2 separate regions of the Homo sapiens genome follow, and region 2 is linked to region 1. The links are contacts of gene promoters, found by promoter capture Hi-C in blood cells and fetal thymus (Javierre and others, 2016). All regions are on one chromosome and are shown on one strand. Each heading gives the region's core, a stretch centred on a gene start or on the middle of the fragment in contact. The rest is flanking DNA. Distances are from core to core; before and after follow the strand shown. Region 1 holds the start of LINC01431 (long intergenic non-protein coding RNA 1431). Region 2 holds the start of RRBP1 (ribosome binding protein 1).

The links. The method cuts DNA at HindIII sites, captures the fragments that hold promoters and counts their contacts. A CHiCAGO score of 5 or more calls a contact.
Region 2: the fragment with the promoter of RRBP1 here is called in contact with the fragment with the promoter of LINC01431 in region 1 in 3 of 17 cell types (non-activated CD4 T cells, naive CD8 T cells and total CD8 T cells); the score reaches 9.5 in non-activated CD4 T cells.

What each region holds. Positions count from the first base shown.
Region 1 is chr20:23,355,452-23,359,459 of GRCh38, forward strand. LINC01431 (long intergenic non-protein coding RNA 1431) reads right to left here and starts at 2,676. Exons shown (of 3, transcript NR_109884.1): 1 at 2,504-2,676; 2 at 1,600-1,686; 3 at 1,143-1,518. RefSeq lists enhancers at 2,102-2,191, 2,382-2,771 and a silencer at 2,822-3,011. The HindIII fragment of the contact is 4,137 bases long and covers 1,660-4,008 here.
Region 2 is chr20:17,680,613-17,684,544 of GRCh38, forward strand. It overlaps RRBP1 (ribosome binding protein 1), which reads right to left and starts at 1,630. Exons shown (of 25, transcript NM_001365613.2): 1 at 1,416-1,630. RefSeq lists enhancers at 1-123, 315-987, 2,241-2,300 and silencers at 561-870, 901-950, 981-1,310, 1,541-1,960. The HindIII fragment of the contact is 11,518 bases long and covers 1-3,932 here.

The DNA of each region.
Region 1 (4,008 bases), core at 1,426-3,925:
CTGATTCTGAGAGGAAGAAGCACTGAAACTAGGATGGAGGACATCAGAACCAGAAGCTGCTGTTACTGATCCTAAAGGCCAAACCCAATTGCATTTCTTCAATGTAAAGAATAGAAAACCCTATAGAAGTTGGACCAATAGATGATGTGCCTGCCATGCTGCAGCTTCCCCAGTTAAGTTGTCTTTGGTAAAAGTGTGCTAGGTTTGGGATAGGGTAGTCAAGATACTGCAATGGGAAATTTTGAGAAGGGTAAGAATCCTGATAAGCACAGTGACACAGGTAGCCGTTTCCTCTTGACACCCCTTCCCTTCTCTATTATCTGAAGCCCAGTGTTTTGAGAGATAAGGGACCCACCTTAAATACTTGACTTTCTCATTCAATTTGTAGCTAGGTCTGACATGTGATTAAGTTCTGGCCAATGAAGTAGGACTGAACTTGGGGGAATTTTCCTTCAACAGACCCTTCTTTCTTTCCCACTCTATCCTGCTGCCTGGAAAGGTTATGCTGACCTGACCACGGGCTCTGGCTCAGTCTTGGCCAAGAGAACAGCTCAGCCATACCCTAGACGTAGGATAGTGCTGAGCTAAAAGGAGCCTAGGTCCCATGTGGAAACACCAAAATAGCCCCAGCTCACTCAACCAAAGACTTCTTTTTAAATGAGAAATCCCATCTTAAGCCATTATCAATTTGGGGTGTGTGACACTGACACACAGCAGTAATCCTAAGTGAGGAAAAGGATTTGAATGGGGCAGACTGTATTCACTACAGGGCCCAGAAGACGCGGGGACGGCCCCAACTACTGCCCTTCAGGTCCGGGCCAGACCCGCAATGGGCAGGATGGGTAGGGTACAGGGCGTGCGTCCCCACCTACACTAGCCTGGTTGCAGGCGGCCTCCAAGGGCACAGCGGGAAGCTCCGCCCTTGCCATGCCCCCGCCACCGGGGAAGGCAAGACAAATGTGCGTGGCACCCTCCTCCTTCGGTTCTGGGACACATCTCCACCAAGCGGCCGTTCGGCAGGTAGGGCCAGATGGTCCCGGCTCGTCCCTGCGGGTGGGGTTTCCCACCGGCGGAAAGCGCAAGCCCCTCCCGTTCTGTCCAGCGCGCTGCCCGCTGCCTTAATTATAAGGCAGATGAAGGTGAAAAGTTTACTGGTTTTTATTTTTGCAACTTTTTGTAAATTTTAAATTATTCTAAAAAGTTTAAGAAATGAATTGTGCTGAGGAGTATAATCAGCACGCAGTGCGAGTTCTTATAGTGGCCACGTCCACAAACCCTGTGTTGTGGAAGAACAGAAGGCGTTCTGCTTTCTGTGTTTCACCGTCTCTCCCTCGCTTTAACTTCCAGGTCCCGGAGTAGTGGTGACAGCAAGGTCTGTTGGTTTCTTTGGTTTAGGTTTGATGAAAGGCCACTCCAGTGGGGTAGGAGGTGGGCAGGGAGAACAGGGGCTAGGGTGGGAGGGGCAGGAGTTGGGTCCTGGGGGTGGAGGAGATGACGGGGAGAGTGGCTTGGAGAAATCTGCAAGAAGAGACATTGGAAGGCCGGGGGAGGTGAAATGGACACTGGGTGAAGCTGAGGAGTCCTAGTGAACCATGTTACCTCTGATCCAGATATTCCCAGAACAACAAGAAATCAAGCTTCTGAATGTGGTCTGTTGCAAGCTTGGAAGGTGCACACCTGTTGCTGCTAATTTGGACAATTTGGGGGAAGAGCAGAGATTTAGATGTTGCTTTGGTCGACCTTAAACACCAGCCCTGTCTCCCCTACCACTTTGCCAAATTAGGGCCCCGTCTCTCTAAAGAGCAAACAGAAAACTGCAGAAAGTTGCTTTGTCCTGTAGACAAGAGGCTGGGACTAGGTAAGAGGAGGGAGCCAGGATGCAAAACTTAAGACCAGCCTGGCCAACAAGGCGAAACCCCGTTTCTACTAAAAATAGAAAAATTAGCTGGGCGTGGTGGCAGGCGCCTGTAATCCCAGCTACTCAGGAAGCTGAGGCAGGACAATCGCTTGAACCCAGGAGGCGGAGGTTGTAGTCAGCCAAGATCGCGCCACTGCATTCCAGTCTGGGCGACAGAGCGAGACTCCGTAACAAAAAACAAACAAACAAACAAAAAATCTTAAACATCACCAACGAGCCTTGTGAGAAATGGTTTAACGTTGTGATACCTTGCCCAATTTTAAGGCAGGTAAAGGTGTGTGTTAAAACTCAACTCTTGAACTGAACCCCAGCTGCCCTTTAGGGCATGCTTAATTTGATGTGGACTGTAACCTCTTTTGCAGCATTGTAGAGATTTGGAATCTGCACATTAGGAAGAGACCCCACGAGGCGGTGGCGTTCTTTCTCGTTCGGAGCTCACACCCCTCCTGGGGAGCCCTCTCCCAACCCGGGCTCCCGGTAAGCGCGGTCGCCGCTCCTCTGAGGGCTGCTCTTCCCTCGCTTCTGAGCCGAGGCCCCCGCGACACGAACGCCACGCCCGAAGCGCTCTTGCCAGGACGTACTGACCGAGGGTAGGCTGCCCAGCCGGGTGGTAACGTTGAGGAAAGGACAGCAGCTTCGCAAAGGAGCTGGGTAAAACCACGCCCAGACCCCGCTGGCCACCAGCCCGAGACCAAGACGCAGGCGGTGGCGCCGGTTTCTCACTCAACCGCAGGTTCCAGCATCCCCGATACGGCCGACGTCATTACCCTGCGACCGCTCAGGACACTTCTGAGGACTCTTTTGACAGCTAGTAATCGCGCGGTGGCGCGACCACGTGACTCCGGCGCCCTAGCCCCGCCCTCCGTCTCCAAGGAGCCCTGGAAGGAGCTATACCAGCGGCTCCAGAAGGCGGGGAGAGGCGGGGCCGGACTCCGGGACAGCCAATGGGCGAGGAGTGCCGCCCAGCCTGACCCACCGGCCGCTCCCTCACGAGCCTGTGGGCGTGCGCCGGCTGTGCAGGTGAGGGGCAGCGAGGGCGCCTAGTGGGCAGGGCGCCGGCGTTGCGCGTGCGTCAGTGTTCTTCCTTGTGCAGTTTAGAATTTGATACATTTCTTTCCAGTCTATTTCTATAGATTTGTTTTCAAATCACATCAGACCCTATGTAAAATAGTGTACCGTCTTTACTCATTATAACATGGTGAGCATTTCCCCAAGCTATTACACATATTTTTAAACATTGTTTTAATGACCGGCATAATAATCCAGTGCTTGGATATATCAAATTCTTCGGCCATCTCCTTATAGGTGAGATTGTTTCCAAAGTTTCACTAATGTAAGTGCACTGCAGTGAACGCCCTTACGTAACAATTGTTCACTCCCGTGTACTTTTCTCGTGCAGAGTTCTACAGCATGAAACACTATATTTAACTTTGTCAGGTTGATGTTTATCAGTGGTTTATTATTGTTTTTATAGTATTCCATTGTCAGTGAAGTATGCCATTCACACTGTCAAGTGAATTGTCTATTTGTATTATTTAAAAAAAAGATCACAAACATAGAAAGGAGAGCTTTATTTCTTTAAACGGTGATAACCTGCAAGGTGGCCCTTCTGACAGGCTGGGAAGCATAGCTTCTGGCAGAAGCTCAAAAGGCAGGCAGCTGGAGGGAAGGGGGCCTAAGACAGGAATTTAAGCTGAAGGACTTAGCCAAGTACACATATGAACAGGCCACAGGAAGAGCTATGAATATTCATGAAACGGGTCCTGACCCATGCTTACTGGACAAACGTGCATGTTACAGGTGACCTATGTTTACTTTGGGGTGGACTCTTAGCATTTACAGGTATTCATGTATTACATTTAGACCCTATAAGTTGAAAGATCTTTTCAGGACACCGATGCACTTGTGTGCAGCCTCTGTAAACCGCCAGAATCAGCCCCTGTTCGGTTGTTTCCCATCAGGAAAAAGTTACTGCAGTCAGTCTCTGGTCCAATCAAAGCAGTAATTATTTGTGGAAGTGGTGGGGCTGGGGCAGGGGGCGTGTCAGTCAGCATGTGGAGGTGGATGAAAAGCACATTGTTTGAATATTG
Region 2 (3,932 bases), core at 380-2,879, 5.7 Mb before region 1:
CCTGTGAGTGGGTGGTGCTGTCTTCAGGCCACAGATAAGAAACTAGGATTCAGAGGGGCTATGGGACCTGCGAGTAGGCGGCCAGTACGTGGTCCGGGGTGTAGAACCCCGGCTGTGCAACTTCTGCAGCCCCGCGCCCGCCGCAGTGCCGGAGCCAGGCCCCACCTTCCTCCCGTGTCCAGCACCCCCCAACAAAAGCATCCCAACTGAACAGCCAACACTTGTGGCTCCTTCCTACAAGTGCTGGGTCTCCACAGCTTTCCTCGCAAATCGAAGCTAACAGGAGCCCCGATTTGCAGACCAGGAAATGGAGACCCCGAACGAAACAACTTGGTCGGGGTCACCCTCGCCAGCCGGGGCACTCTAGAGCTAAAACTCGCGACTTATCATTCGGAGAGGGGTCCCTGAAGCACTGCGGGCGCCCCACTGGAAGCGCAGACCCCGGCCTGCCTCCCCTAATCAGGGCGCAGCGGGAGAGCCGGCCGGGCCGGGGCGGGCACCAGGCCGGGTGCCAGCGCGCTTGGCCGGCCCGGAGGTGTCCGCTTCCGCCCGGGGCTGGCACCGCCGGCCCATTCATCGTGGCCGCGGGCGGGGCGGGCCGGGCCCCGGGCGCCCTCGTCCCCCCGCCGGGAGCCCTCGAGCCAGGCTCCGCGCAGCCCAGCCGGGGAAACGGTGGCCCCGGCCCCGCCGCCAGGGGGAGCAGGGAGCCGCCTCCCGCACTCCGGGAAGTTGCCACCGCGGCCGCCCGGCGTCCGTGCCATGGACAGACCCGGTCCCTGCGCCGCGAGCCCTGCGGCCCCGGCCCGCCCCGTCGGGGGCCGTCCCAGCCCCGCGAAGCGCCAGCGGGCCGCGGCCCGGGACCGGCGCGCTCGGCCCGTGGGCCCCCATTCAATCCCGCCCTCCTCCCCTCGGCCGGCCTCCGCCGCCTTCCGCCCGCACCCCACCCCTCCGGCCCGGACTCCAGCCCGGCAACGTCATCCGGCGGCTTCCCGAAACTTAACCCCTTCCTCCGCCAGCTGTGCGCCGCCCCGCCCCGCCCCGCCGCCAACTTTCTTCGCCCAACTTCGGAGCGCGCTGGCCGGCCCGACGGCCCTGCCGGGAGGGAGGGAGGCAGGGAGCGGTCGCCACGTCGCGCCCGTCTGCCGCCGCAGCTCCCCGGACGGCGAGGGCCGCGGGGTCCACACCACGGGGCGCGCCCTGCCTACGCCCCGGTACGGCGCTTGCCCGGCACCCCCGCCCCGAGTCCGACCCCGACCCCGATGGTGCACGGCCGCGGCGGCAGGCGGCGGGCGGCGGGCGGGCCGGGGGAGGGGCCGCCGAGGAGACGTGTCACTCGCGGCGCAGCGCGGCCGGCCCCGGCCCCCCGACGGCCCGGCCCGCGCGCGGCCGCTGCAGGGCCCGGCCAAGTTTCTTACCTGCAGCCAGAGACGCGAGAGGGAAAGCGAGAGGGCAGGAGCCGCCGCCTTCGCAGCCGCCGCGGAGCCGGGAGAGAGGAGCCGGCCAAGCCTCCGCCAAGAAACCGCCCCCGAGCAGCTGTAGACGCTGCGACCCTGACGCCGCCCGCCCCGTCTGCCGTCCGCTCCGGCCGCTCGCTGGCTGCGTGCGCGCGTGTGGAGTCGTGGCACTTTCTGCCTCAGAGCTGGCGAACGGCCCCCTCCGCCGGGATCGCCGCCTCCTGCCTTCCCCACCCGGGCCAGCCATTCATCGAGCCGCCTCTTCCCATTGGTCCGCACCCCGCCACTCTGCCGGTCGCTGGCCAGTCAGGACGCGGGTGGCCGAGCCGCGGCGGCGGCCATTGGGCAGAGAGGAGGGTCTCCACCTCGGCCAATGGGAGAGGGGAGGAGCTGCGGGGAGGTGAAGGGGGCAGGGCTGGGGAGAGGCGGGGCCGAGCGGCGCGGCGCTCGGCCGTGCGCGGGGCGGGGCGGAGCAGGAACGCCCCGCCCACCGAGGGGGGGGTCTCCGGCCAGCTCCGCCCACTCTGGGCCCGCGGCGCTCCCAGCAGTCTCTGACTAGGATCCGGCTCTGCCTAGGCGGGAAGCAGAAGGTTCGGGTCCCGGCGACCCCGGGCCTGCGCCTCTGGATACCGCTGGGCTGACATGGCGGTGGCTGAACAGGGTTGCGCAACCGCGAACAGCCAAGGAAGCTGCTTTATTTAAACCCAACTAACTTCCCCCGAAGCAGCGCCCCCTCGGGCCGCCGGGTATGAGGACAAGCTCTGCTGGGGGTCAGCCCAGGGAGAGCAAGTTCTTATCATCAAAGAGATTGCAATCAGCACCAGAAGGAATTTCCTTCAGTAAATGGAGGAATTGGGGTGGAAGAGCCAGAAGGTGCACGAGGAATTGAAGCGGATGTCATCGCCCTCGTTGTTAGGGAGGGTACAACTGAGGCACGGTCTATTTAAGATACTCAACCAAATCACAGCCGGCAGAGCAATAATTACAATCCACTCTGTGGCGTTTTATTCCATGCGTTGGGGAAGGTGAGAGGTTCTAACCTAAGAAAACTCATCCGTGTCCCACAAAACGGAGCAACTGGTACTTCCTCATTCCCTGACTTTCTCCCCAATATCAGCCAACACTCAGTCTTCATAATTAGTCAAGTCTTTAAATTAAAATAATTTTAGGCTTGATTTTTAACCATTATGTCAGCGTCTCTTAAAGCCAACCCTTTGAACTTGAGCCAAAGCCAGCTTCTTTGGAATTTTGGATTCTGAGCGACCAAAGGCTGCCTAGACTGCCCCCCATCACTTCCCTAGCTCCTGTTGCTGCAGAATCCCGTGCCTAACATCTATTTCTTGGACAATTTTCAATCTTCCCTGTCCCCATTTGTCACTAGTACTGTACTAGCTGTTGTTAGAAAGATGTGAAAAATACAAGCCTTCATGGGGAATAAAGAGCGATTGGGTTGAAATTAAACTGTTCATTCCTATTTTTAATCTTGGCGGTTCCTTAGCCCATTAATGATTAATCAGCAGGAATTAACCTGGATTAACTCTGGAACACTCAGTCATTTTCCAGCAGTGAGACCCGGCTTCAAATGAAAGTCAAGAATCCCAGCTTCTGGCTGGCAATTGCTACCAATGAGTCCTACTTGACCAGGGCTGGGCCATCTAACCTTTCTGAACATGGGTATACTCCTTTAGGACAATCACTCCTTCCTCTGGGTTTCAGGGAGGAAATTCATTCGTTCATTCATTCATTCATTCATTCACCGGTGTTTGTGGAGTGCCCGGTATACAGTGCTAAGCTGGGCAAGCAGCCTAGAATGACACATAGGTCCAGTGAAGACCCAGCTGCCCTCAAGGGCCTGTCCAGGGACAGGGACCTCCTTTATCCTGTTCACTGTTTATCTTTTTCCGGAAGCAGATCCTGGCAGTAGGGTTTGTTCAATCATTCATTTGGGGGATAATCATAAGAAACATTGGTGGAGAAGTGGGATGAGCAGGAGCCAATAAGGGGACCAACATCAAGCCTGTGACTGGTGTGGGCACACAGGGCTCGGCGTCTCTGGGGATGCTGTGAAACTGTAGAACACACCCCAGAGACGTCCCAGCTGAGGGGTGAGGACCTGGTTATTTATCCAGCCACTCCCAGTCCTCATTGGTTAACAGCTTCTTCTGGGGGGACTTTAACCCCCGCCCCCATCAAGCTGGAGAAAGCCTTGCAGCAAGAAGCCCTTGGCAGAATGGTGAGTGCCTGGAGGCATGTCGGGGGCCACAGCAGTGTCTCCCACACTGTGAACCATAGTCCGACACAGCACCTGCACAGAATAGAGGCTTGTGAATATACGTGTTCTGTAAATATTGTCCCATGAGCGATAACATTACAAAGTCCTTAGGAGTGAGGAGTGTTTACAGAAAAGGGGCTCCCTGTTTGTTCCCTTACATAACTTAACATTTGATTTGGCCTCAACACAACATTTGTTTCGGGATG